Linked DNA regions of Homo sapiens: all the other regions are linked to region 4. Evidence: promoter capture Hi-C in 16 types of primary human blood cells and fetal thymus (Javierre and others, 2016). All regions are on one chromosome and are shown on one strand. Each heading gives the region's core, a stretch centred on a gene start or on the middle of the fragment in contact. The rest is flanking DNA. Distances are from core to core; before and after follow the strand shown.

Evidence for each region. The method cuts DNA at HindIII sites, captures the fragments that hold promoters and counts their contacts. A CHiCAGO score of 5 or more calls a contact.
Region 1: a fragment that was not itself captured here is called in contact with the fragment with the promoter of POU1F1 in region 4 in 5 of 17 cell types (non-activated CD4 T cells, M0 macrophages, monocytes and 2 more); the score reaches 7.2 in non-activated CD4 T cells.
Region 2: a fragment that was not itself captured here is called in contact with the fragment with the promoter of POU1F1 in region 4 in 4 of 17 cell types (non-activated CD4 T cells, fetal thymus, total CD8 T cells and 1 more); the score reaches 8.0 in non-activated CD4 T cells.
Region 3: a contact is called between a fragment that was not itself captured here and the fragment with the promoter of POU1F1 in region 4, in 4 of 17 cell types (monocytes, naive B cells, total B cells and 1 more). The highest score is 7.5, in monocytes.
Region 5: a contact is called between a fragment that was not itself captured here and the fragment with the promoter of POU1F1 in region 4, in 4 of 17 cell types (monocytes, M0 macrophages, total CD8 T cells and 1 more). The highest score is 7.7, in monocytes.

What each region holds. Positions count from the first base shown.
Region 1 is chr3:88,166,691-88,172,228 of GRCh38, reverse strand. No RefSeq gene overlaps it. Among named protein-coding and RNA genes, the nearest start is that of C3orf38, 20 kb to the right of the region's middle. The HindIII fragment of the contact is 1,128 bases long and covers 3,419-4,546 here.
Region 2 is chr3:88,196,921-88,202,330 of GRCh38, reverse strand. No RefSeq gene overlaps it. Among named protein-coding and RNA genes, the nearest start is that of C3orf38, 50 kb to the right of the region's middle. The HindIII fragment of the contact is 780 bases long and covers 1,344-2,123 here.
Region 3 is chr3:88,036,276-88,041,433 of GRCh38, reverse strand. No RefSeq gene overlaps it. Among named protein-coding and RNA genes, the nearest start is that of CGGBP1, 20 kb to the left of the region's middle. The HindIII fragment of the contact is 6,499 bases long and covers 1-4,828 here.
Region 4 is chr3:87,274,080-87,279,822 of GRCh38, reverse strand. POU1F1 (POU class 1 homeobox 1) reads left to right here and starts at 3,239. Exons shown (of 6, transcript NM_000306.4): 1 at 3,239-3,502. The coding sequence starts at 3,361. The HindIII fragment of the contact is 1,385 bases long and covers 1,991-3,375 here.
Region 5 is chr3:87,975,853-87,981,268 of GRCh38, reverse strand. The region is part of intron 2 of HTR1F (5-hydroxytryptamine receptor 1F); the gene reads right to left. Among named protein-coding and RNA genes, the nearest start is that of CGGBP1, 80 kb to the left of the region's middle. The HindIII fragment of the contact is 5,935 bases long and covers 1-5,164 here.

The sequences.
Region 1 (5,538 bases), core at 2,733-5,232, 890 kb before region 4:
AAAAAAGCCCAGCACTGCCCCCCTTTCTCTTTTGTCATATGAGGTACAGATGCTGGCTCCTCTTCACCTTCTGCCTTGAGTGGAAGCAACCTGAAGCCCTTAGATGCAGATGCTCAAAGTTGAACTTTCTAGCTCTCCAGAACTGCAAGCCAAATAAATCCTTTTTCTTTATAAATTACCCAGCCTCCGGTATTCCTTTATAGTAACACAACACAGACTAATACACTCAGTTTTTCATAAACATTCAAAAGTATTATATACAGAGTCATTGATTTCCTGCCTCTTATAAGTGGTTGATTAGGAGTATCTAATGCAGATATTTTGATATCTGTATAACAGTTCATGCCATGGACAACCAGTGCTCTCTGTACTATTGGAAACAGAGTCCTTAGCATTTTTAAATATAATCACACTAGAGAGCCAATTCCAGAAGTCCCAAAACCAATTTAGGAAGCTCATCCTTACAGTTCTGTTCCTCTAGAATCACTCCTGGTATTAGGATTCTTCAGAGAAACAGGACCACCAATAGGATAGATAAATGATAGATAAATATGGCAGAGGATTTGTTAGAGGAATTAGCTTACATGATTATGGAGGCTGAGAAGTCCCAACCTGGAGAATGAGGGAAGTTGGTAGCATGGCTTGGTTCAAATCCAAAAAGCCTGAGAACCAAGGGGCACTAGTGCACATCCTGATGCCAAAAGGCTGGAGAACTTGGAGTTCTGATGTCCAAGAGCAAGAGAAGCTGGGTGTCTCAACTCCAGATGAGACAAAGTGAGCAAATTGCCTTTCTTCTGCCTTTTTGATCTATCCAGGCCCTCAGACAATTGGATGGTGCCTGCCCACATTACATCAGGGTAGATCTTCCATACTCAGTCCACTGATTCAAATGCCAGTCTCTTCTGGAAACACCCTTACAAACATACCGAGAAATAATGCTTCACCAGCTATCTGGGTATCCCTGAATCCAGTCAAGTTGACTCCTAAAATTAAGCATCACAGGAATATAGGACAGAGTCTAGCAGGGGTCCAATGTGGAGCTTCCAGTCCCTCTCCCATGGAGTCATAGATGGCTTTATCTCTTTCCAGTCACAATGTGGGACAATACTTATCCCAGCCTTTGGTGTTCAGAGTTTTTATTAGGGCTTGATCACCTATTTATTGTTTGTGTGGCTGAACTTTAGTCTACAGTTCCTCCCAGAAGTTGGGCTAATAGCTTTGAACTCAAGTTCCTCTGGAGGTAGGTAAAAATTGATATGGCACAGCCCAAAACCTATCATAAATCACATTGTTAGACTGTCCCACAGCCAAAGCCCTGAGGAGTGACACTCTTATGTTGCAGAACATTACAAGAGCCTAGAGCTAGGGGCAAAGGTCAGACCTCTCATTGGGTAAGGTTGATTATACACTAACAACTGCCTTCATTATTTGTTTATACCTGTATCTGTTCTGACCAGATAATATATGCACATAGCACAAAATTCAAAATATATATGTGTGTGTGTATGCGTGTGTACATGTGTATATATATACGTACATTCTCACATCTGCAAATAGTAATTTTTTTTTTTTTTTTGAGACTGAGTCTCGCCCAGTCACCCAGGCTGGAGTTCACTGGCGCGATCTCAGCTCATTGCAACCTCCACCTCCCGGGTTCAAGCAATTCTCCTGCCTCAGCCTCCCGAGTAGCTGGGATTACAGGCGCCTGCCACCATGCCAGATAATTTTTTGTATCTTTAGTAGAGACGGGGTTTCACCATGTTGGCCAGGCTGGTCTCGAACTCCTGACCTCATGATCCACCCCCCCCCCACCCCCCAGCCTCCCAAAGTGCTGGGATTACAGGTGTGAGCCACCACACCCAGCTACAAATAGTAATTTTTTAAACAGTCATAGTTATTATTAAAATTTGCACTATACAGAATTTTCTGAAAACACTCTGAATGCTCTTAAATATGAACTTATAAAAAGAAAAATACATTTAATGGAAAAACATGTTAATCTCTTTAACTTCACCATTACTCTGCGAAATCTAACAATCGAGTCCAGAAGGCTATTTTAAAGGTATTTGTGTACATCTCTTGGGACTTTCCCTAATGTGCAAGTCCAAGAGCTTCAAAAGTGTCAGCCTCAGAAAGACTAACCTATAAAATGAAGAAAGACATTGCAGCAAGCCATCTCAATTTAGGTATAGAAGAAATATAACATATTTATACATTTACTAATTATGATAGTGAATACAAAAAATACAAACATTATTTGATGAAAATCTCCCCTTCTCCCAAAATATATTGTGCAAAAACATGTCTTTACACACTTCTAGAAGACTGACCACTGACAGATGACATGGCATTTAAAAAATGTTAGCAATTGTAATTCATAGAAAGTAAACAAAATAAAATATTTAAAAAAATTTTTTTTATTCCAGTACTGAAAATGTTTCAAACGGATTCTTGTTTGGGTGGAAAGTAAAAGGAGACAGTGATCACTGACTAAATTGCCATAGCACAGTAGTGATGAAAAGACACAAAATATGGGGCACTGAATGGTTTCTTTTTTTTTTTTTTTGAGATGGAGTCTCATTCCGTCACCCAGGCTGGAGTGCAGTGGCGCGATCTTGGCTTACTGCAAGCTCCGCCTCCCAGGTTCACGCCATTCTCCTGCCTCAGCCTCCCGAGTAGCTGGGACTACAGGCGCCCGCCACCACGCCCGGCTAATTTTTTTTGTATTTTTAGTACAAACAGGGTGTCACCATGTTAGCCAGGATGGTCTAGATCTCCTGACCTTGTGATCCACCAGCCTCGGCCTCCCAAAGTGTTGGGATTACAGGCGTGAGCCACCTCGCCCGGCCGAATGGTTTCTAAAAAGCAGAAGTACACAATTCCAGTTCAATTGCTTGTGTAAAAAGGTGATTATTGTTTGTTTGTTTTTTAAAGAAGTCATATAAAATATAAAGTCAGGTCAGCATTAAGCTTTTAGTGTACAACTTGCTTGAACCTTTATAAAAATGGTAAACGAGCAGCTTTACTTTTCCTACAATGTTGTTCTATATTACAGTAATATATTCATAAAGAAAGGAAGTTTGCACCAGGCGCAGTGGCTCATGCCTGTAATCCTAGCACTTTGGGAGGCTGAGGCGAGTGGATCACCTGAGGTCAGGAGTTTGAGACCAGCCTGGCCAACATGGCAAAACCCAATTTCTACTAAAAATACAAAAAAAAAAAAAAAAAAATTAGCTGGGCATGGTGGCAGGCGCCTGTAATCCCAGCTACTTGGGAGGCTGAGGCAGGAGAATCACTTGAACCCAGTGGGTGGAGGTTGCAGTGAGACGAGATCGTGCCCCTTCACTCCAGCCTGGGCAGAAGAGTGAGACTCCGTCTCAAAACAACAACAACAAACAAAAAAACAAAAAAGGAAGCTTGCCACTCTTCTGCTATTCTAAGAATAAACATGTGGTTTACATTCTTGTTTTCACTGATCCACATGTACCTTTTTTTTTTTTTTGGTTACATACTTTCTCTCAAAATAAACTTTTCACTCAGGTCACCAAAAAATCTACCTGTAGATGATGTTAAATGGGTTCCCAATCTGTCCTTTGCATTCAACTCAGGGAAGCATTCTTTCATGTTATTATATTGTTTTTATGCTGTATTTAGATACAGTTTTAAATAAGCCCCCACATACCTTATGTTTCTGTGGTAAGCAAAAATAATGAGACGATGGGGGAAAAAATGAAGCTCTATAAGACTGAGCCTTTGCACGAGAGTTGTGTAATCTTAAAATAATCAGATCTCTTTGCCACTAAAATTCACGTAAGACTTGGAGTGATGGCTCTTCAAGACACTGGATTAGCTGATAGGCCACTTGCGCAAGGTATCTACAATCAAGGAAAAGCCCTTTACTAACATTAACACCATCTCAAGGAAATGTTTTAAATTTATGTCCTTATCTCAAAAATTTCACGTGAATACTTTTCCTCTATATAGGCAGTATTGTAGGAAGAAGTTTTGTAACTTCCTGTCCAGTTTTTCATATGGCATTATAAAACTGGACTCAAGAGATCAAAATTTGTGTTTTCTAGCCCCTTCAACACTAAATCACCATTAGAATGGTTTACGGTTGATAATTAACTGCTGTGTTTTAAGAAAGGGATGTGTTGATTGGCTTTCTTGTATAGTCCTTTCATTTACAATCACCTTCGCTACTGCTCAAATAGCTGGTGCTCCAGCATTAAAAGTCATGATTCACCCTTTCTAGTCCACATCAAAACTTACTTCCCAGCATAGCCTCATTGTCTATATTCAAAGGTTTCCAGGGATAAACAGAGTAAGTTTTTACGGACTTCTCACTGATATATGTAACACACATCATATGATTCATACACTGTACAGCAGTGGTTTTGTCTGAATAATACCATCTAGAAGGCAAATCATAGGAATTGTTCTTCCACATTGTCACTGAATTATGTAATTTATCAACAATACTTTTCCAATAGCATTTGTTCCCCCTGATTATATTTGTTATTACTGCTAACACTTTTTACAAGCTTCTCAGCAACAATGTCTTATTTTGTACTTTGTTTAAAGGAATACAACTCTGGGTGATGTTTCTGTAATTTTGGATTCATCCATAATATTGCATGACAAATTTTAAACTGAGACGTGAAGTAATTACCTAACTAAATGCATTACCAGAGAAATTAATGTACTTTAAAAATGATGTGATAACTTTGATGGTGACATGTAGATATTTGACAGGCAATGTACTGACCAATGGTGAATGGAATGCAGGCCAAAAAAAAATAAGTTCAGATAGTCATTATCCTTCCTTATCTGTATCAGCTGATGTCTGAAAACATCATACACACAGAATCTCTTCTAAAGCACATACTTTTTTTTTTTTTTTTTGCGAGACAGAGTCTCACTCTGTTGCTCACGCTGGAGTGCAGTGGCGCAATCTCTGCTCACTGCAATCTCCGCCCTCCGGGTTCAAGAGATTCTCCTGCCTCAGCCTCCCCAATAGCTGGGACTACAGGAGACTGCCACCATGCCTGACTAATTTTCGTATTTTTAGTAGAGATGGGTTTTCACCATATTGGCCAGGCTGATCTTGAACTCCTGACCTTAGGTGATCCACTCACCTAGGCCTCCCCAAGTGCTGGGATTACAGGTGTGAGCCACGTGCCCGGCCAAAAGCACATACATTTTCTCATTCTGTATTCACACTGAAGTTATTTCCATTGGAGCATTTTTACGAATGATATTTGTTACTATTTTCATCATTTTTCAATAAGCCAATTTTGTGAATTGGGAAAATGAGTATCAAATATAAAATGTAAATTTAACAAGCATTAAAATTAATACGAAAGAACATTAGTAAGGTGAACATCCGGTTAACCTCATGTTGGCTGAGGTTAAAACTGACCTACAGTCTTCACTGTGTACATAAGCATCTACAATAAACTAACACTTAAAAACTTAAGGGGATTGTCATGCAAATCATCTTACATTTAAAATGTGCAAAATATGTGAATTATGTGC
Region 2 (5,410 bases), core at 484-2,983, 920 kb before region 4:
TGTTTCTGAGATTCTTATTCCTCCTGTGTCAAATGATGTGCATTAATTTTCTCCAAAGCCTCTTCTAGATTTAAGATTTTATGATTATTCTGCATGTGAACATCGTAATTGAGCAAATATATATTTTCATCTTTTATTTTATTTATTTATTTGAGACAGGGTCTCACTTTGTCATCCAAGCTGGGGCAAAGTCGTGCCATCATAGCTCACTGCAGCCTTGACCTCCCAGGCTCAAGCGATCCTCCCACCTCAGCCTCCTGAGTAGCTGGGACTACAGATGCACACCACCACACCCAGCTAATATTTTAATATTTTGTAGAGACTAGTTCTTGCTATGTTGACAAAGCTGGTCTCAAACTCTTGGGCTCAAGTGATCCTCCTGCCTCAGCCTCCCTAAGTGCTGGGATTACAGGGGTCAGCTACTGCACCTGGCCTATAACTGAGCAAATAAAAATGTTTAAACTAAATGCCAAATATTTAGGATTCATTACGACAATTTTAGAGCACTACTTTAAGGAGAAAGCATGTCTGTAAAGACATGAATTAGATCATATAAATGTTCCAGATAAAGGACTTCAGTACATGAAATACCAAGTGATATTGTTGTATCTGCGGGACTAGCTACATTATGTGCTTGAAAGACTGATGACTAGTTAAAAAGAAAAAAGTAAACTAATTCCATTAATTCAACGGACGTAGCTAAAATAAATAAACATATTAGGCATTATCACTAAAATCACTGTAGCAAAGTCGTATCTAAAACCCAGAAACTTTGGAAGATGCCTCTGTCAATGGAAAAAATGAAACTAGACTGTTTGAATACAGTTCATTCATCCTGTGACTATTTCTGGAAACAATTGTTTGGTAAATGCCCAGGAGGTGAGAAAAATCTCTGAAAGAGTGATAAATAGGAAGGGAAGTAAAAAACAATCAAAAATTGGAACCAAATGTCACAATTAATTAAAATAGCCTTAGAAATACTGTTTCGAAACTAAGTTATACCTAGAACTCGAGTACTTTTTAACGGCACACCACATTCTGTTAAAACCACTCTCTCAATAAGTACCAGCGACCTACAAATCATTAAAGATAATCATTCCAGAAGGTTCTATTCCCACCAGTATTTTCTTCATTTTTCCTTTGGATGGAATTATAACTATATAACTTCTAATATCACCATTGAGCAGATACATGGTTCTCAGTTACTTTCTCAGTATCTCTGTTGGGATTGTACCAAACTCATGTTTAAAGCTTAACTCATTATCTTTCTTTTCAAAACCAGTGTATCCAGATATTTGTTTCTATTAACACTGTAACTATTCCACCATTTCACCTCAAAAGCTTAGAGTTATCTAAGAATCTTATATGCTGTTATAGTTTGGATGTATGTCCCCTCCAAATCTCATATTGAAATGAGATCCCCAGTGTTGAAAGTGGGGCCTGGTGGGAGATATTTGGGTTATGGGACTGGATTGTTCATGAATGGCTTGGTGCCTTCCCATGGTAATGAACGAGTTCTCACTCTGTTAGTTCACAAGAGAGCTGATTGTTTTGAGACTGGGACCTCCCTCCTTTCTCTCTTGTGTTCTCTCTTGCCAAGTAATACACTCGCTGCCCCTTTGACTTCAGCTATGACTGGAAACTTCCTGAGGCTGTCACCAGAAACAGATGCCAGCACTATGTTTCCTGTATAGGCTGTAGAACTATGAGCCAAAGAACTCTTTTTTTAATATATAGAGTACCCAGCCTCGGGTATTCCTGCATGGCACTGCAAAACAGACTAACACTCATGTCTTTCCCACACCCTGATCTTTCTTGTTCTTATCTCAATACTATTTCTATTTCTCACTCCCATCTTTTCTTTCCCGCTTTTTGGTGCCATCATTCTAGCCATGGTTACCTCTCCATTGTCTCTTGCCTGGAATATTGTAGTAGTTCCCTAAGTGTGCATCATACCAGACTCAGCATTGTTATATCTCAAGGCTTGACTTACTTGATATCATTTAAGTATTTTTAAATCACAAACCAATTCATGTAATTCTATGCTAAAAATCCCTAAATGTCTTCCCATTGTATATGAACAAAACAGAAAACCCTAATACTTAAAGGCTTTTCTGAAAGCTTATTCTCTACCAGTCTCCATGTTCCAGTGGAACTGGGCCATTCTCACATTCTTTGAGTTTACTCAAAGGCAGAAGCTCATGGTGCCTCTTTACCATGTCGTGCCTCTTCACGCCCATCTCTGCGTGAAGGCAGCTTCATCTCTTTGCTTCCTTGACCAGCCTGTTGTCTTCCTTGATTCCCTCCAGCCAAAGTTGGCCTCCCTATCCACCACCCAACTCTAATAGTCACTAATAAAACATATTTTGAAATATTTTACAGAGTGGAATATAACTAACAAATAAAGAATTTAAAACATAGTTGGGGATCTCAGTGTACCCTTCCCCAAAATAATTTCTCTCCCTCTTTCATAGAGGTAAACATGACCATAATTTTGATATTTTCCATTCATGTGAATTCTTTATAATTTTGCTGTTTACATATATACCCTAAATAATATATTTTAATATATTATTTTTAATTTATAAATTTAAAAAATAAAATTTATAAATAATAAAAATTATAAATATAATTTTTTTAACTTGTTGAAATGATGTCATGTTATCTATGTTACCTTACAGCTTAGGAGGATTTTAGGAGGGATGGGGCAGGGAGATGATTAACTCAACATTAAACCTTGCTGATACATGTAATCCTAACTCTTTTATTTTTACTAATAGAGAGTATTCCACTGTCATAGTATACAATTTAAATTCTTTATTTGCTACACAAATTCCTCTTCATACTTCTTATACACAACTACACAGAGAAACTTTGTTGATGGATATTTCAATTACTTCCGCTTTTTTCTATTACAAACAATATCACTAAAATTATTTCTTTGTGCATCATTTCAGAGTTTTTTCTGAGTTTATATAACTAGATGATAAATTACTGAGTTGTAAGATGTCTTTCAGTATTCATTTCTAACATCAGAAAACTGTTCCCATTGCTTCCCTTTTTCACCAAAACTTGGTATTTTCCTGGCTTCTGAATTTTTGTTTATCTGAGTGATACAACTTGTTTCTCACTGTAGTTTTAATTTATACTTTACAGATTATATATATAGTCAAAGGAGCTTATTAGTCACTTCTTTCTTCTTCTATATACTCTTGTTCTTATATTTTACCAACTTTTCCATTGTGTTGTCTTTTTCTTACATATATTTTAAGAGGTTTTTAAAGTTCTGGATGCTATCACTTTTATACTTTCAAATATCTTCATTTAATCTTGGCTTATCTTTGTAATTATTTTATTATGTTTTCTTCAGATACATACAATTTTTTAAAATAATACTATTATTGCTGTTAAAAGGTAAACTGAAGTGCAATAATGTTAAAGAATCGGGCGGGCGGGGTTGCTCAACCCTGTAATCCCAGCACTTCGGGAGGCCGAGGCGGGTGGATCACGAGGTCAGGAGCTCGAGACCAGCCTGGTCAGTATGGTGAAACCCGGTTTCTACTAAAAATACAAAAATTAACTGGGCGTGGTGGCGCGTGCCTGTAGTCCCAGCTGCTCGGGAGACTGAGGCAGGAGAATCACTTGAATCCGGGAGGCAGAGGTTGCAGTGAGCCGAGATCGCGCCACTGCACTCCAGCCTGGGCGACAGAGCGAGAATCTGTCTCAAAAAAAAAAAAAAAAAAAAAAAATTAAGAGTCTATTTTGGCAAACAGTTATTTATGAATCAGGCAGCTCCAAACTGAAAGAAGTGTTGTGCTCTGTTGAAGAAGTGTTCAAGACAAGATTTTAAAGTCTTTATTAAGGATTTTAAAGGATTTATTAAGTTTATAAAGAATATAGACTTAAAGAAACTTTTGATGAGTTACAGTTACAAAGTTTCCTTATTTGTTCTATCCCGTTGGAAAGTCCCTAGTAACATAAGCTAGTTGGCTGCTTCTGGTTGGTTAAGCTTAAGTTTTGTTTTTCCTAATAAAAGCAATTACAATAAATAGCCCAAGTTAAGTTTCTCTTACATTTGCAAAGCAGGCAAAGTTCAGGTCAATTATGAGAACTTGGGCTTTATTTGTTCAGGGATTCTTTGGACCTGGTCTTTGTTTTAATTTACTTTAAGATAGTTAATATTTATTGAGTGTCTAATTATCCTTCATACAAATTGAATCATTTTACACATGTGTTGTAAATTTAACAATATTTCCCTTTTGATTTATGCTTCTTTGTCTAATTTTTAAAATGCTGATTTTTCTTGTGATTATGCTGTTTTGCCTAATTTTAAAAATACTTATATTTCTTGTCTTTTATTTACTCCTTTATTTTCTTCTAAGAGACTAAAAATTTTATTTTTCACATTTAGTTTGTTAAACCATATATATTGAAGTGTTTGCTATAGGAGTTGAGATGTTTTTTTTTTTCATACGGATCATGAGTGGTACTAACAGCTAAAATTTTTTCTATTAAGTCTGACAATCTCTTTATGTTAACTTGAAATTCAGTCTATTTATCTTATCATAACTAACAATATATTTAAACTTATTGCTAACAATTTACTTTGTGCTTTCTGACAATTTACTTCCCACTTCCTTCATGAATTTTAACCCCATTTTCTGTTAATTTCATATTTCCTCTTTTCTTTTATGTTCTAGAAATTTTAAGTTCCATTTATTTTTGAGACCATTCTTAAATTATAACATGCATAAAGATAAATCAATACTCTTGAAAGAGTAAAGGATTTTAAATGTCTTGTTGGTCATATTTGCAGAAAAGAAAACCTAAATAGCACTTGACTTTTTTTTTTTTTTTTTTTTTTTTTTTTTTTTTTTTTTTTGTAATAGAGACAGGGTTTTGCTCTGTCGCCCAGGCTGGACTGCAGCATTACCATCATAGCTCACTGCAGCCTCAACCTCCTGGACTCAAGTGATCCTCCCACCTCAACCTTTTGAGTAGCTGAGACTACAGGTACATCCAGTTAATTTTTTTATTTTTGTAGAGACAGGGTTTCACCATATTGCCCACGCTGGTCTTGAACTCCTGGGCTCAAACAATCTCCCCACCTTAGCATCCCCAGAGTATTGCTACTTCTTTTACAGAATGTACTTTAAATTTCCTAATCGTATGGTTATTTGATTACATATTATCCAAAAGACTGTAAGCTCCTTTAGCATGTAAATCCTCCTACATTCTCCTCATTTTTTCTTTCCCGGAATGTCTTTTTAAAATATGTACATAAAGAAAACAACCAGAATTCATTTTCTCTTTAAGTCTCATTGCCGACTGTCCTAATTTCTCCTGGAGGACATCAAACCTGTACTGTACTAAACTTTCAGTGATATAAAAATAAAATAGGTTCAACAGA
Region 3 (5,158 bases), core at 330-2,829, 760 kb before region 4:
GCCTCTTTGGATTTTGAAAGCAATACATTCCTTATTTCGATATGTTACTCCAGCCCATCTAGTGAATGATCGGAAAAACAGCCAGTTTTGTCTGAGACTCAGAACAAAAGGAGGTTCTGCCACAGATCCAGGCTGCCTTGCAACTTCTTTGCCAGGGCCATATGATCCTGCAATCCAGTGGTGTTGGAAGTGTCTGCAGCAGATAGGGAAGCCATTTGGAGCCCTTGGCAGGCCCCTAGAGGTGAGTCACAGTGTAGGCCCTTAGGATTTAGAGCAAAGCACTGCTATCCTTTGCAGGTAACTACTCTGTTTTTGAGAAATAGCTCTTGGCTTGCTATTAAGTCTTAGCAGAGGCTGACTGTTTAGCCATGGGCAACCACTAAGTTACCGTATGAGCTGAGTGGCCCATCATGAATGGAGTGATATCTGATCTACTTAGCCATAAAGTTAGGTGTGAACAGTAGCACTCCATCATCCAATAGAAGTGATAAATATTTAAATCAGGTATAAGTATCTTACATGAATAAGTGGTCAAAATGCTCACGGTCTCCCTACCTGCTACATTACCTTCTCTCTCCCAGCCTGCACCTATGGCCTCACTGGAAGTTCTCTACATTCACTTGGTGGAGGAAGATAAGATTCAGGTATGGTTTACAGATAGTTTCGCATAATATGCAGGCACTAGCCCAAAGTGAACAGCTGCAGCAATACAGCCCTTTCCTGGAGGCTATGAAGGACCAAGATGAAGGGAAATCTTAATGTGCAGAATGTTGAGCAGTGCACCTGGTTTTTCACTTTGAATGGCCAGACATGCAATTATATGCTGATTCATGGGCTACGGCCTGTGATTTGGCTAAATGGTGAGGGACTTGGAAGGAACATGATTCGAAAATTGGTGACAAGGAAATCTGAGGAAAGGATATGTGGATAGACCACTTTAAATAGGCAAAAAACGTGGAGATATTTGTATCCCATGGGAATGTTCACCAACATGCGACCTCAGCAGAGGAGGATTTTAGGAGTTAAGTAGACAGGATGGCCTGTTCTGTGGATACTAATCAGCCTCTCCCCAACCATCCCTGTCATTGTCCAGTGGGCTCATGAAAAAAGCGGCCATGGTGGCAGTGATACAGGCAGGTGGGAGGAGGGCAGGGTCCCTGGCAAGGGCCCCACCCTCAAGCCTAGACCTGTGGCCCTAAATAAGAACAGGCATTCCTGTTTTTGCCCCAGACATTGCCTTTGGCCCACCACAGCCCCCTATCCTCTGTCCATATAAACCCCAAACCCCAGGATCCATGAGCAGAAAGCAGCAGAGTGGTGTGGCAGAGAAGTAGAGAAGAGAGAAAGCATCTGAACATCAAGAGGAGTTCGGCTGGGGGCAGTTGGAGAGGGGATTGGCCAGGGGACGGCCAAACTCCAAGGGAAGATCATCTTCCCACTCCATTCCCTCTCCAGTTCCCCACCTCCATCACTCAATAAAATCCCCACATTTACCATCCTTCAAGTCCAAGTGATCTGATTCTTTCTGGATGCAAGACAAGAATTTGGGATGTATTGGGTGTGGGAACCCAAAAAGGCTGTCACACTGCCTTTTTACTGAGCTGTTTAACACTTAAACTGTCCCCAATGGCAGGGCTAAAAGACCACTGTAACACCCCTAAACACTGCTGTGAGGCTGGATCCCAAAAACACTTGCCCTGGCCTCTGCACCTGCTCACCTGCATGCTCCTCCTCCCATAAGGGGTTTGAGTGCATGGTGGCCGAACAAATGAACCACACCTTGGTCGCACGTCCCATGAGGGGTTCAGGGAACTCTCCTGTTTCAGCAGGATGGAGGTTATGTATGGGTTCAGTAGCATAAAATCCCACCAACCAAGGCCAACGTGGCTATAGCCACCACTGAGTTCGCAGTCTGCCAGTGGCAGAGACTAACACTAACAGGCACAATTGCCTGGGGTGGTCACCCAGCTGTCTAGTGGCAGGTTACATTGGACCTCTTCCATCATAGAAGGGGCAACATCTTGTTCTTACCAGAATAGACACTCTTGATATGGATTTGCCTTCCCTGCACACACTGTTTCTACCCAATCTATCATCTGTGAACTTACAGCATGTCTTATACACCATAATAGTATTCTATACAGCATTTGTTTTCATCAAAGAACTCAACTTACAGCAAATAAAGTACGGCAATTGGCGCATGCTCATGCATTCCCTAGTATTACCATATTTTTCATCATCTGCAAGAAGCTGTCTTAACAGAGTGGTGAAATGACCTTCTAAAGACAGAGTTCCAGAACCAGCTAGGTGGCATTATCTTTCAAGGCTAGGACAAGGCTCTTCAGAAGGCTTTGTATGCTTTGGATCAGCATTCAATACATGGTGCTGTTTCTCCCATGGCCAGGATTCATGAGTCCCAGAATCAAGGGCTGAAAATGGGAGAAGCACCATTCACTGGTACCCCTAATGACCCACTAGCAAAATTTTTGCTTCCTGATTCCTCAGCCTTATCTTCTGCTGGTCTAGAAGTCTTAGTTCCAAAGAAAGGAATGCTTCCACCACGAGACACAGTGAGTCCATTTAACTGGAAGTTAAGACTGCCTCTTGGGCCCTTTGGGCTCCTCATGCCTATGAATCACCAGGCAAAGAAGGGAGTTAGTGTTCTGATGGGGGTGACTGATCCTGACTACCAAGGGGAATAGAACCATTACACAACAATGGTGGTAAGGATGAGTATGTCTAGTCTACAAGAGGTCCCTTAGGGTGTCTGTTATTACTGCTATGCTCTGTGATTAAGGCCAATGTAAAACTGCAACGATCCAATTCAGGCAGGGCTATTAATAGCTCAGACTTTTCAGGAAGGAAAACTTGGGCTACCCACTATGTAAAGAATTATGGCTGCTTAAGTTTTTGCTGAAGGCAAAGGGAATACAGATTAAGTAGTGAAAGAAGGTAGTCAAAAATACCAGCTATAGCCAAATGGCCAGTTACAGAAATGCAAAATGAGGACTATAATTGTAATGAATATTTTCTCCTTATTTTGTTACAAATGTGTGTGTGTGTGTGTGTGTGTGTGTGTAGATAGATGGATAAAGCAAATATTTTTGTTTTCTTCCCTCATCCCCCCTCATCATGTAAAATAAGATGTGTTGACTTTACATCATTGTATGTAAGTTACAGGACATCAGGGAGAAGAGTTAACATCATTTCAGGACTTTATCTCCTCTTCTAAAATGTTAGTGTGTTTCTGGTTGTACACAGAATAGTTTTATTATGATAGGAGGAAATACGACCTTGTTGTCTTTTTTGAGATTGAGTATGGTTTAAGGACACGTATATGGGTACCAAGTTGACAAGGGGTAGGTTTATGATAGTTTTATGTGTGAATTGAGTAGGTCATGGGGTGGCCAGCTATTTGGTCAAACTTTATTCTGGGTGTGTCTATGCAGGTGTTTTAGGATGAAATTCACACTTGAATTGGTGGACTGAGAAAAGAAGATTGCCCTCCCTAATGCGAGTGAGCCCTGAATAAAACCCTGACTCATGCATCACTCAAGTAAAGCCTTCCTTCTGGAGGATGGGGAGGCATAGCCTTGTTTTTTTTGTTTGTTTGTTTGTTTGTTTTGGTTTGTTTGCTCTTCACCTATGTAGACTTTTGAGTACTGCCTCACTTACAAAGTTCTTCTATTCAGGGGAGAAGATTGGGAGGAAAAGGACTCACACAGCTGCAAATGAAACCCAGGAAATCCACTTGTATCAGCTTCCCAGGGCTACTGTAACAGGGCACTACAAACTAGGTGGCTTAAAGCAACACAATTATATTTTCCCACTGTTCTAAAGATTATAAGTTTGAAATCAAGGTGCAGCAGGGTCATTCTTCTCTGAAGCCTGTAGGGCAGAATCCTTCCTTGCCTCTTCCTAGCTTCTGGTGGTTTGTGGGCAATCTTTGATGTTCCTTGGTTTCTAGTTGCAGGAATTCAATCTCAGCCTCTGTTGGCACGTGGCATTCTCCCTCTGTATGTGGACCTAAATCTCCCTTTTTATAGGGGACCCCAGTCATATAGAATTAGGGCCACCCTAATGACCTCATCTTAACTTGATTACATCTGCAAAGACTGTATTTCCAAATAAAGTCACTTTCTCTGGGATGGGGTCTAGGATTTCAAAGTATCTTTTTGGGTGACACAATTCAATCCATAACAGAACCTTCACTCATCAACTTAGAGCATCAGTCAAATAGTTTACCACATGTTTGACAAAACCAAAGGCATTCACTAACATGGGCAATTAGATGATCCAAGTAACCATAAGAGAACATTTAAAAACTGAATTGACTATCTTCAGAGAAGGTGTCATAGAGTAGGATAAAATATCCACAAAATAAGAACAGACAGCAATGACAAGGTGGCAATCAGAGGAAAACATAGTTCTTACAAATTAAAAAAAGTAAAATTTAAGAAACAGTCAATACCAGTGGAAGATTTGGAAAATAAAGTTACAGAACTCCCCCAAACTATAGAGCAAATGGCAAAGAGATGGCTACCATAAGAAAAAAAAAGTAAAAAAAAAAGAAGGAACAACTCTCCATACATAACGCTATCAGTTAGTAGTACCAAGAAGACAAAAAAAAAAAAAAGGGGGGAAATGAGGGGGATAGATAAACAAATATGTAACTGAGAAAAATTTCCCATAATCCCCTAAACCACAAGTATTGAGATTTCAGAGAGCTCTAAATGTTAAGACAAAAACAAACAAAAGAAACTTTTGCCTTAGACAATTATTTGTGAAATTTCAGAACTATTAGGACTCAAATAAATTTATAAAAGCTTCCAGAAAGAAAGAACACTGTCTGCACAGTAACTGGCTGTTGCAAACTCCAGGCAGCCCCATGTGCACGATATTCCCTGGCTTTGTGTCCCAGGGTCCAGAAAATGTTCCCTGAAGCTGAGCGGTGACGTAGCATTGGATGGGTATTATACTGCAGAAGTCAATAGACAAATGCTTGAAATGCTGAGTATGAATTATTTTGAAACCGCAAGTATATAAAGTATATATTTATCCAAACTAGAATTTAGATGTGAGATCAAAATAAATAAATATTTTGGCCTGCAAAGCCTCCAAAGGTTATCACCTACAGAACCTCTCTGAAATAATTGAG
Region 4 (5,743 bases), core at 1,990-4,489:
TAAATAAGCCTTTGGATAAGGTCAAATTTTAAAGTCTGAAATCATTAAAAATGCATGCAAAAAATGAACCACATGTTTAGCTCTTACATAAAATACTATGTATACCAAGGTCCAGCATAAATTTAAAAGATGAGACATTAAGAAAATTTTAATCATACAATGATCAGAGCAATGAAAATTAAAATTTTCAGTGTATTTGTAAAAGACACAAATGGATAATAAAATTGAATGGCCTTTAAATAAAAGGATAAAATATAGAATCTGTTAATTAACAAAACGATAAATACAGATAGCAAATATAAACCTGAAAACAGAGCATATCAGCAATCAAAAATGCAGATTAAAATATTAAAATATTATCCTATCAGATTAATAAGGCATATATATTTACACATTATTACTAACAATGAGAATGCCAGACAATTGTGGATTTTACACCACTAATGCTAGTGTAAGATGGTATAAGAGCATCAGTCATATTTTAAGGGTGTCTTCCAAGACAATGTTCTATCCCTCCTTGTCTACAAACATCTGAATGTATCCAGGACTATCCTACCCATTCATAAGTGTGGACCACTGGGAACCATCTTTATACTTCTGGAACTTACCAAAAAGTTATAGCCAATAAGAGTATTTCTCTCGGCCCAGCGCATGGCTCACATCTGTAATCCTAGCACTTTGGGAGGCCGAGGCGGGTGGATCTTTTGAGGTCAGGAGTTCGAGACCAGCCTGGCCAACATGGTGAAATCCCATCTGTACAAAAAATACAAAAATTAGCCAGGTATGGTGGCAAGCGCCTGTAATCCCAGCTACTTGGAAGGCTGAGGCAGAAGAATCTCTTGAACATGGGAGGCAGAGTTTGCAGTGAGCCAAGATCACGCCATTGCACTCCAGCCTGGGTGACAGAGTGAGACTCCCCAAAAAAAAAAAAAAAATTATCATAAATGTCGACTGAGAAGCTACAAGATAGTCTGTTTGCCTCCTTGAAAGTTTAAGGCATGATCTAGAGATTTTTGAGGTGAACATGGATGGAGAATCAGCCTAGGCTGTTCTATAGAGAAGGAAAAAAGTTTGAGACAAAAAAAAAAAAAAAAAGCAGGTAGGAGAGTCAGAGAGGTGTGCCCTCATTTTCTATTCAGTCTGTCTCTATGGCCTGACTTCCTTCTTTTCTGTGAGTGCCAAGAAACTCCTGTGTCTCCTGATAATAAACAATTCTTTTTGCTTGACTTACTCCTGATATTTTACATCAAAATCATAATATAATTAATTATTTGAAAATGCAAGTTAGTAATGTTTTCAAGATGTTAAAAGTTTGTAAGACTTAAGCTTAGTAATTCTACTTCTAAGAATCTATCTTAAAGGGGTACATTCCAGATAATCCTATAGATATATTGTATCGTAGAAGACTGTAATGGAAACATTTATTTCCTGGCTTTACCTCATTTTAACAGAACAGGTGTTTAATTTTTAAAAATGATTATGGAAGAAATTCTACGATTGCAATTTAAAACTTTTTAGATATCATGGTAAATAACTGGGAAAATTTTATATTGTTTGCTAGGCAGGTTTTATGGTACTTCATAAAGTATCTTCAGTATACTTCATAAAGTATATTTTTCACATACTTTACCAACATATTCCAATGACTTTATATAACAATAGTAAAATTATTAAGGGACATTTTCAAATTACATTTTCTATAAATATCATTTAGCTTAATTTTTAACATACATGATACCCAATAAACACACTTTTATTTAATTTTCTTAACAGAAACTCCAAATAGACATACTGAAAATCACCTTTTTGTATATGTGAAGTCTGAAAATGATCAGAATTCTGCAAGGGTATAATAATGCTTTTGATTACTTGAAACTTTCTCTCATTAGAAAAGACTAATAAAGCTTCAAAGATATAGAATTCAGAATGAAAAAATATGTCATTTTTAGAATAAATATTTTCATTCCATATCTAATGATTTAGGCAAGCTTTTACATATTTTCCTTCAAAATATCAGCTGCTTACTGACAAAGTGTTCAAGTTTTTGAAAATGTCTTATCAATATTAACATGAAATTTGATACAAAGCAACCAATTCCAAATTATCTTAAAACATTCCGTAGTACAAAATTAGTGTCTACTCACATCAATAATATCTATTCCTGTTCGCTTACTTCTATTTGCTATATTACCTTAATATACAATACATAAATAGTATTTTATTTACTCATTACATACTCATAAATCATGATCATTGTAAAGTTTTGATGCTGTTATTTATCTTTGAAATAGTTGGCTGTAGCATATTATTTTTTTCATTCTCATATAAAGTCAATATATTTTGTGTGAGAAGTTTGCATCTAGTTAGCAACTACCATGGTTATCTCAGGCTTTGTGGCACAGAGTCTAGCTTAGTGAGAATGGCAAGGTACATAACTCACATAGATGTTGTGAGATTTGCATGACGTAACTGTATAAATACCTAGAATACTGTCAGCATCTAGTAACAGCTTACTAAATATTGGGTTCTTGAGTGAATTGAAATCGAGGTAAAGATAACAATTACCCATATCTTAGTTGTATTTAACTTTGGTGCAGTAGTGGTTGCGGTTCTTGCCATTAATGCAATCACTTTTGCACCAACCTATCATTACTACATTTTATCCAATTTTTTTCCATTTTTCACTTATAATATAGTAAAACTTATATTGGTTGTCATCGTTTTTAAAAGCTGTGCATTTTTGAGTATGAATCATTAATTGACAACATATTTTCTCATGTTTAGTATTATATGCTTCTCTCATAATCTTAAATATTGTTTCTTAAAATTATGTATAATACTATGCACTTCTTTTGTTTCATGTTTTATCGCAGATTTAATGAGAAGTTGTTTAAAAAAATCTCATATTTATACATTTGCAATTGTGTTAGTAGCAAAAAGATACCTACTATTTTTCAATTGATTGTGGCATTATTTTTTTGAGGGACGTGTTTTCAAAATTGTTGATTCCTCTCTAAAAGGTCTGAACTACTGAAGTTGTCAAATAAGGTTTCAGATTTCTCCCTTCCCCTCCATCTATACCCCAGAATCAGCTTCCTTCTCTGCCATGGATTATGTTTGGGGTAAAAAAGGAAGACGGTTCAGATTGATAAAGCAATACTCCTGGGAAAAGACTATTAACATGTATAAAGGGATTTCCTTGCAGTATAAATACTAGCGCGCACCCTCCTGGTGCCTCAGAGCCTTCCTGATGTATATATGCAGGTAGTGAGAATTGAATCGGCCCTTTGAGACAGTAATATAATAAAACTCTGATTTGGGGAGCAGCGGTTCTCCTTATTTTTCTACTCTCTTGTGGGAATGAGTTGCCAAGCTTTTACTTCGGCTGATACCTTTATACCTCTGAATTCTGACGCCTCTGCAACTCTGCCTCTGATAATGCATCACAGTGCTGCCGAGTGTCTACCAGTCTCCAACCATGCCACCAATGTGATGTCTACAGGTACTGACTCCTATGACAGTTTACATATGACCGGGCCTAAATATTTCAGAATGAATGCTTTGAATCTTGATAGTTAATAATCTCTTTGCATCTTTCATTTTACCCCTCCAATTTAATTTGTCTTAAGTGAAGTAAGCATTAAGCATATCTAAAAAGCCAACATGCCAAATAAATTTTAAAGAAATATTAGTAAGTGTAGTAATTTAAAATCACTGTTGGCTTTGTTGTAAGGAAGAAAATCTGTTTTCTACATAAGAAAAGAATGAACTTGGACATTTTAAATCTAAAAACCTTTTTAATGGAAATATTTATAGAATAAGGAGCAAATGAAATGAATATTATAAAATAACAATATTTAAAAGGTGCTACTTCTTTATCTTAAAGGTTTATTCGGTTGTTAAATTACATTTACTATCTAAAAACAGCTATAAACCTTATATTAAACACAACAGAACAATCTGAATATCAACAACAATGGATTTCATAGAATAAAATAGAGTTTTAATTAACATATTTTAGCATAAGATACAGAAATTATAGCAAGAAATAACATGACATTTAAAGCCCATTAACTAAGGTAAATTTTCTCAAAATTGCATTCTGAAGAGACTTACTTCACTTCTAAGTTTTAACATTTATCTCACATAACTTTTTAGAACAAAAATTAAACCTAAGAATTCACAGGCTCAACACAATCAGCCAAATACATATGTTTTGCCAGTGTGTTCATTCTTTATGCAGTAACAAAGTGTTTTAGAGTTGATTTACAAATGGAGAAAGACTTGAATTGGGTAAATTTCTTCCATTGAATAGCAATATAATATTCACTTTCCACTTGTTTTAAATGCAATTTTTCTCATATTTAGGAATGAAATTATATACATTTAGAAATCAAAGTTTGAGTTGATACATTATTCTGATTTGAAGGATTTAAGCTCTATCTTTTGTTATTATTAAGCATTTTCTAAATACATGCGTAAGTTTGGCACCAATCTTCTGGTGGATTTTAAAGAATCTAGAGGTCAGATATTTAGACTTTGGTAAAATCATTTAATGTAGAGATTTTTCAATATTACCTTTTAAATTAAATTTCAGGAATCCGCCAAAGATTTCTGTAATTTAATTTAAAGGGTAATACAGGAAGTATCCTCCAACATAATTTTTGGAAGACACAATAGTTTTTATCAAAAATATATGCTATAAATAAATCTAAGCAATTACCACATAGCTAATCACATATTTTAAATAGTAGGTCATCCTATAGATTGAGAATAATGAGAATAATACACTATTTCTGTGTTTGAAGATAATTTGGCCAGCATGAAAATACAATTCAGAATCGAGGTAATAATCTAGTAAAATCTAATTTTATACTCAAAATGCCATTTATTTACTTTAAAATAAGTAACAATTTATTTAGTAAATTAGCCTATCCTGTATTTAACTTCCTAAAATCTGAAAAGCAAAAATTATTTAAGCCTTAAAATTAAAAAAGAATTATAATTAATAAAAGTGACCTACAAATGTTTTAAATGATAATAGCATTGATTTATAATTTTTTAATGAAATTTGAATCATATACATCTAATTGTCTAAGGAACTATTATAGAAACACTGACTTTAATGGGAACACTTGAGTATTAAATATGTTTAATGATAATTTGCTTAATTTTGGAATGCACAGTAATGCATTATATGTAATCATTATATTGCAAAATGACTTTAGTTCTTTTGAGCTATTAATTATAAAATAAAAATGTATACAGATTTTTAAAAATTAAAGATTTTTCTCTATTTTAAAATAATTTATTTTACTTTATGAAGAAAGGCATGTCTTTAATCACTAGTTTGTATATTGGTATTCTCAAAGGATTCTAACCATACTTTATAATATCTCATTTATTCAAGAAAATTAATTTATGAAAATTAACCAATATATTCAGAATATGAAGGAAAAAATTGAGAAAATAAAATATATAAGGAAATATTGGTTTTATTGTCAATATTTTGTGCTCCCTATCAACTTGATGATTTGTGTTTAAAACTTGATAAAAGTCTAATAATTCCAGTTTACTTCCAAAATACACATTGATTTCCTGAAGCATATAACCATTTATGAACGGTTATGTTTATGTACGGCTTTATGGCTTTATGGATATTAAGTCACTCAATGAATGAACTCATTTTTTGACCAGCTTTATCATTAGAATGGTTGTATCAATTGTGTATATGCAGACAACT
Region 5 (5,416 bases), core at 948-3,447, 700 kb before region 4:
AAGCTGAGATTGCACCACTGCACTCCAGCCTGGGTGACAGAGTAAGACTCCATCTCCAAAAAACAAACAAACAAAAAAACCCAAAACATAAAACAAACCCGTAAGTGCTAGTGATGGTAGTGGTGGCCCATCTGGAGAGGTTGCTGCAAACAGACCAGCTGTGGCAGGTGAGGTGAAGGCTGGGCTGTGCACTTCAGGGAGCTGGCGGGAGCTGGGAACAGGTGAGAACCCTGCACCCTTCTGAGTTGGTGGGGTGGGAGCCCCACCCCCCCAGGTGCAGCAGCAGCCCCCCAGCTACAGCTGTGGACCTGGACATTCCTATGCTCTCAGGGTCATGGGAACCCTCCCTGCCCCTGCAGGTTCAGAAGTGCCTACTCTTGCTGCCTGATCTCTCCCCACTCCCAGCACCCACTCTCATTTAGGAGCAAAGTTGAAGCCGAGCCCGAGTGTTGTGTGTGTGCTTGAAGCAGTGATGATATGACAGCCCCCTGCCGCCTTGGCATCCTCTGGACTTTGGGCACTGACAAGAATGGGAGAGAGGCCGAGGGGGGACTGAGGGCAGCTAGGTGCAGGCCTGCAGATGCCCCTCAGTACAGCCTGAGCACCATGGATGATGTAATTGATGGTGGCAGGAGGCAGACAGGCTCCTGGGTGGAAAGGAGCAAGCCCCCAGTGAAACCCCATGTTCAAGCCAGGGATGGTCTGAAGCCTGGAGCCTGGGCTGCCTGTTCCATAGCCAGGCATGAAAACTTATGGTGCTTTTTCCAGGCCCACCCATGGCTGCTCATGGACCAGTCAGCATGCACTTCCTCCCTTCTGAAGCCCATAAAAACCCTGGACTTAGCCAGATTTGGAAAGATGACAAGATGACCTGCCCATGGATAGGAGCTACCCACTCTGGGTCTCCTCTCCACTGAGGGCTGCACAGATGTTGGGATGACCTGACTACAGGTAGAAGCTACCCACTCCAGGTCTCCGCTCTGCTGAGGGGTGGAGAGATGTCATCAGGATGACTGCCTGCAGATAGGAGCTACCCACTCCAGGTAGCCTGAGAGCTGTAATATTGCTCAATAAAGCATTCCTTTGCCTTGTTCACTCTCCAGTTGTCCATGTACCTCACTCTTCCTTGAAGCAGGACAAGAATTTGGGACCCACTGAATGGCAGAACTGAAAGAGCTGTAACACAAACAGGGCTGAAACACACCCTGCTGCTTGCCACAGTGTGGGCAATGAGGAGAGAAGAGTTGTGGCCTTTCCAGGAACACAGATGTAAGGGCTCCCTGAACCAGGGCTGAGGCACTCTCTTCGGGGCTCTGCAGTTCCTGGCATCTTCATGCTTCCAGGTGCTACTGCATTCTCCTCATTTAGATATGGGCGCCCACAGCAGAAGCTGCTTGCAGAGCATCTGATTCAGCTGCAGGGTTGCACAGAGGTGGCACCTGGGGCTGCCTGACCTGCCACAGCAGCCAGCGCGCCTGGCTATGTGCAGTAACTGGATCCCATGCTCACTTGCTCATGCACCCCTTGCTGCTCCACTCCATGCCTTGGAAGGCATGGGGTCTTGGCTGGCAGCCAAACTGAGAGCAGCCTGCCAGGCTGAGTGGGCAGAACAAGCCCAGTGGGCCGAGTAAAATTCAGGCAAAGGTGCTACTGGCCACAGAGGCTTCTGACTGGAAAAGTGACAACCTAAGGATCTTGTGACATTTTTAGGGGCTCATCCAGGATCTGTGGAAGGGTGAGTACTAGTGGATTTGCTGCTTTCTGTTCATTTTTCAGAGTCCCTAAACTCCACAGTCAACAGAATGAAAGGAAAATACTGGGTCTCTGTCGGCCAACTAGAAATGACTATCGTGGCTGCCGGACTTAGGACACAGAGGACAGGCTTGCCAGGGAGAACACTGTCAATCCCCCATCACCCTCTGGTGTTGGGAATGTGGGCTTTGTTCCAATCCAGTTTCCCTTCATGGAGGTCTAGCGGTTGTGTGGATTGGAAGGAGGTCCTGGGGCAACTGAAGGTATCTGGCTGAGGCTACTCCTTGGTATTATCCAAAGGCCCCTGGACTGACTTCAGTCCCTGACTGCCGATTAGGGTGTAGCACTAAGACCCTCAGTCTTTCCCATCTCCCTCCCTCCCTCCCTCCCTCCCTCCCTTCCTTCCTCCCTTCCTTCCTTCCTTCCTTCCTTCCTCCCCCCCTCCCTCCCTCCCCCCCCTCCCTCCCTCCCTCCCCCCCTCCCTCCCTCCCTCCCTCCTTCCCTCCCTTCCTTCCCCTCCAGTCCCTGATTGCCCATTAGGGTGTAGCACTAGGACCCTCAGTCTTTCCCATCTCTCTCTTTTCCTTCCTTCCTTCCTTCCTTCCTTCCTTCCTTCCTTCCTTCCTCCCTCCCTCCCTCCCTTCCTTCCATCCTTCTTTCCACTCCAGTCCCTGATTGCCCATTAGGGTGCAGCAATAGGACCTTCAGTCTTTCCCATCTCTCTCTTTCTTTCCCTCTCTCCCTCTCTCCTTCTAGGCCCACCCATAAACCAATCAGCACTCACTTCTTCCCTTCTGAAGCCTATAAAAATCCTGGACTCAGCCAGACTCACAGAGACATTGGGATGACCTGCCTGGGGAAAGGAGCTATCCACTCCTGGACTCCTCTCTGCTGAGGGCTCCACAAATGTCAGGATGACCTGCCTGCAAATAGGAGGTACTGGGTCTCTTCTCCCCTGAGGGCCACAGACAACCTGCCTGTGGATGGGAGCTAACCACTCTGGGTCTCCTGAGAGCTGTACTGTTGCTGTACTGTACTGAGAGCTGTACTGTACTGAGAGCTGTACTGTTGCTCAATAAAGCAGCCCTTCACCTTGCTCACTCTCTAGTTATCATTCTTCCTGAACTTCCAAGAACTCAGGACCTGTCAAATGAAAGAGCTGTAACACAAACAGGACTGAAACACAGCTCCCCGACTCATCAAGTTGTGGGTGATGAGAAGGAAAGAAGAGCTGCGGCCCTTCTGGGAGCTCAGGGAGTGGTGCACTCGAGATGACACCCTCTTTGGGGTCTCTGCGATTTCTGGAGTCTTCAACCTTCTGAGTGCCACCATGTTCCCCTCATCCAGAGGTGGGTGCCCACAATGGAACCTGCTTGTGGTGCATCTAATCCAGCTGCAGGCTTGCATGAAGCTGGCACCTATGCCAGCTCCTGGAGCTGCCCGCCCCTCTGCAGCTGCCAGCTTGCCTGGCTGTGTGCAATGGCTGGACCCTGCACTCACTCACTCACATACCTCTTGCCTCTATGCATCTAGCTCACCCTTGGCAAGCATGGGATCTGGGCCAGTAGCATGAGCTAAGTGCAGACTTCCAGGATGAGTGGGAAGAACAAGTCCAGTGGGTCTGAGTAAAACTAAGGCAAAGGTGCCACTAGCCACATTGGCTTGTGGCTGGAAAAGTGACACCTTAAGGATCCTGTGACACTAGATTTCAAGAAAAATTCATTTAAAGTGACTCCCCCACATAATAGTGTGTGTGAGCTCAGGAAAGTCATTTCAGCTTTAAAAGACTCAGCTTTGGTGGGGAGCAGTGGCTCATGCCTGTAATCCCAGCACTTTGGGAGGCCAAGGTGGGCGGATCATGAGGTCAGGAGATCGAGACCATCCTGGCTAACAAGGTGAACCTTGTCTCTACTAAAAATACAAAAAAAAAGAAAAAAAAAAAAGAAAAAAATTAGCTGGGCGTGCTGGCGGGTGCCTGTAGTCCCAGCTACTCAGGAGGCTGAGGCAGGAGAATGGCGTGGACCCGGGAGGTGGAGTTTGCAGTGAGCTGAGATCAAGCCACTGCACTCCAGCCTGGGCGACAGAGTGAGACTCCGTCTCAAAAAAAAAAAAAAAAAAAAAAAGTCTCAGCTTCATTATCTGTAGAGGGAAAAAATAAATGTCAAACATTATGAAGGGTTGTTGAAGATTACATATAAATCTGTTAGGTACCTGGCTTCTAAAAAACTTAATATTATTATTTGTCATCTGGAGTATAGGGCTAGCAACTCTACCTTTAGGATTGTGGTTAATGTTGATAATAGTTATGAAATAAGTCTAGCTGGGTAAAAAGCATTTCAATTTTTACCCCAGTCTTCCTTTGATGGGATCCATAGTACCATCACTGTCTAATATCAAGTTTTCTAATTCTACAATATGTAAGGGGATGGTGGGAGGAAATAATGTACAATTACCATACATGAGGAATGGTATATTCTCCTATTATGTAAGTTAAAATGAAAAACAGGTAATATGTTAGCAAGCTAGAGATGGAAATTTTGAAAGTTTATGGTCATGATCTTTTCCTCCGCCTTGACTACCCTTCCCTCTCCTTGAGTAATAAGCAAGGCAAATACTTCACACCATAGTGACATTGGATATAATAATGTATTATGTAAGTGGTTATCACCAGGAACTAGACAAAGAATCTGGATATTCTGTGCCCTTACTGGAAAGTTACTAAAAAGTTGATATTTAACTACGTGCAAGATATGAAAAATATTTTAAAACTTTTGTTTGTAAAGTTAGCTATCTGATAAATACCTTAATCTAGGGAAAAATATTGGGTTGGACAAGGTCTATCTCAAAATCAGGGGTGACAATAGCTATTTTTCTTAAACATGAATAAAAATATGTTAAATTATTTAGAAAAATATAACATGCTTAGGGTGTGTTAAAACTTATTGAAAGCTGTTGTGATGTTCAAAAGAAAATTAATTTTAGTGATGATATTTGATTTAACAACTTCAGTTTTTTTTAAGAGATGGGGGTCTTGCTATGTTGCCCAGACTTGACTTGAACTCCTCAGCCTCCTGAATAACTGGGATTATAGGTGTGTGCCATGGTGTCCAGCTAGATTTTTTTTTGATCCATAATAATTAGTTAATCAAGCTAAGCTGGCACAGTTTAAGCAATTTCAGGGACAACATATTTATTTCCCTCTCTTTTATTTTTGTTTTTTACTAGCACCAGGAACTAGACTGTTACTTATATTTTATACAAATGTAATTAATGGAACAAAAGGTATTTCACCTGATCATAATGTATGCTCTTCCATTGTATTCTATCTTTCTTTTGTAAATATGTTAAATTAAAAGTATTCATTCTCTTTTTTAATCTTTAATCTACTTTTCTCTTTTGATTCTCTTAAGCTTTATACTTAAAGTACATTTTACATCAGGTAGGCTTAATAAGTACCAGCTGATTAACTGAGTAGCATAAACAAGACAAATGATTAATACTGACATTTATCGGGCACTCATGGCTTGGTGGGGCTGGTACATAAAGCAGAAGTCTAGTAACATAGTGTGAGTGCTAATTGCTGTCAGTTGAAATTGGGCAGTTGATTTGTCATCTTCAATTAATGGTATTACAGAATGTTCAGCAGTCAACACAAGGCAGATGT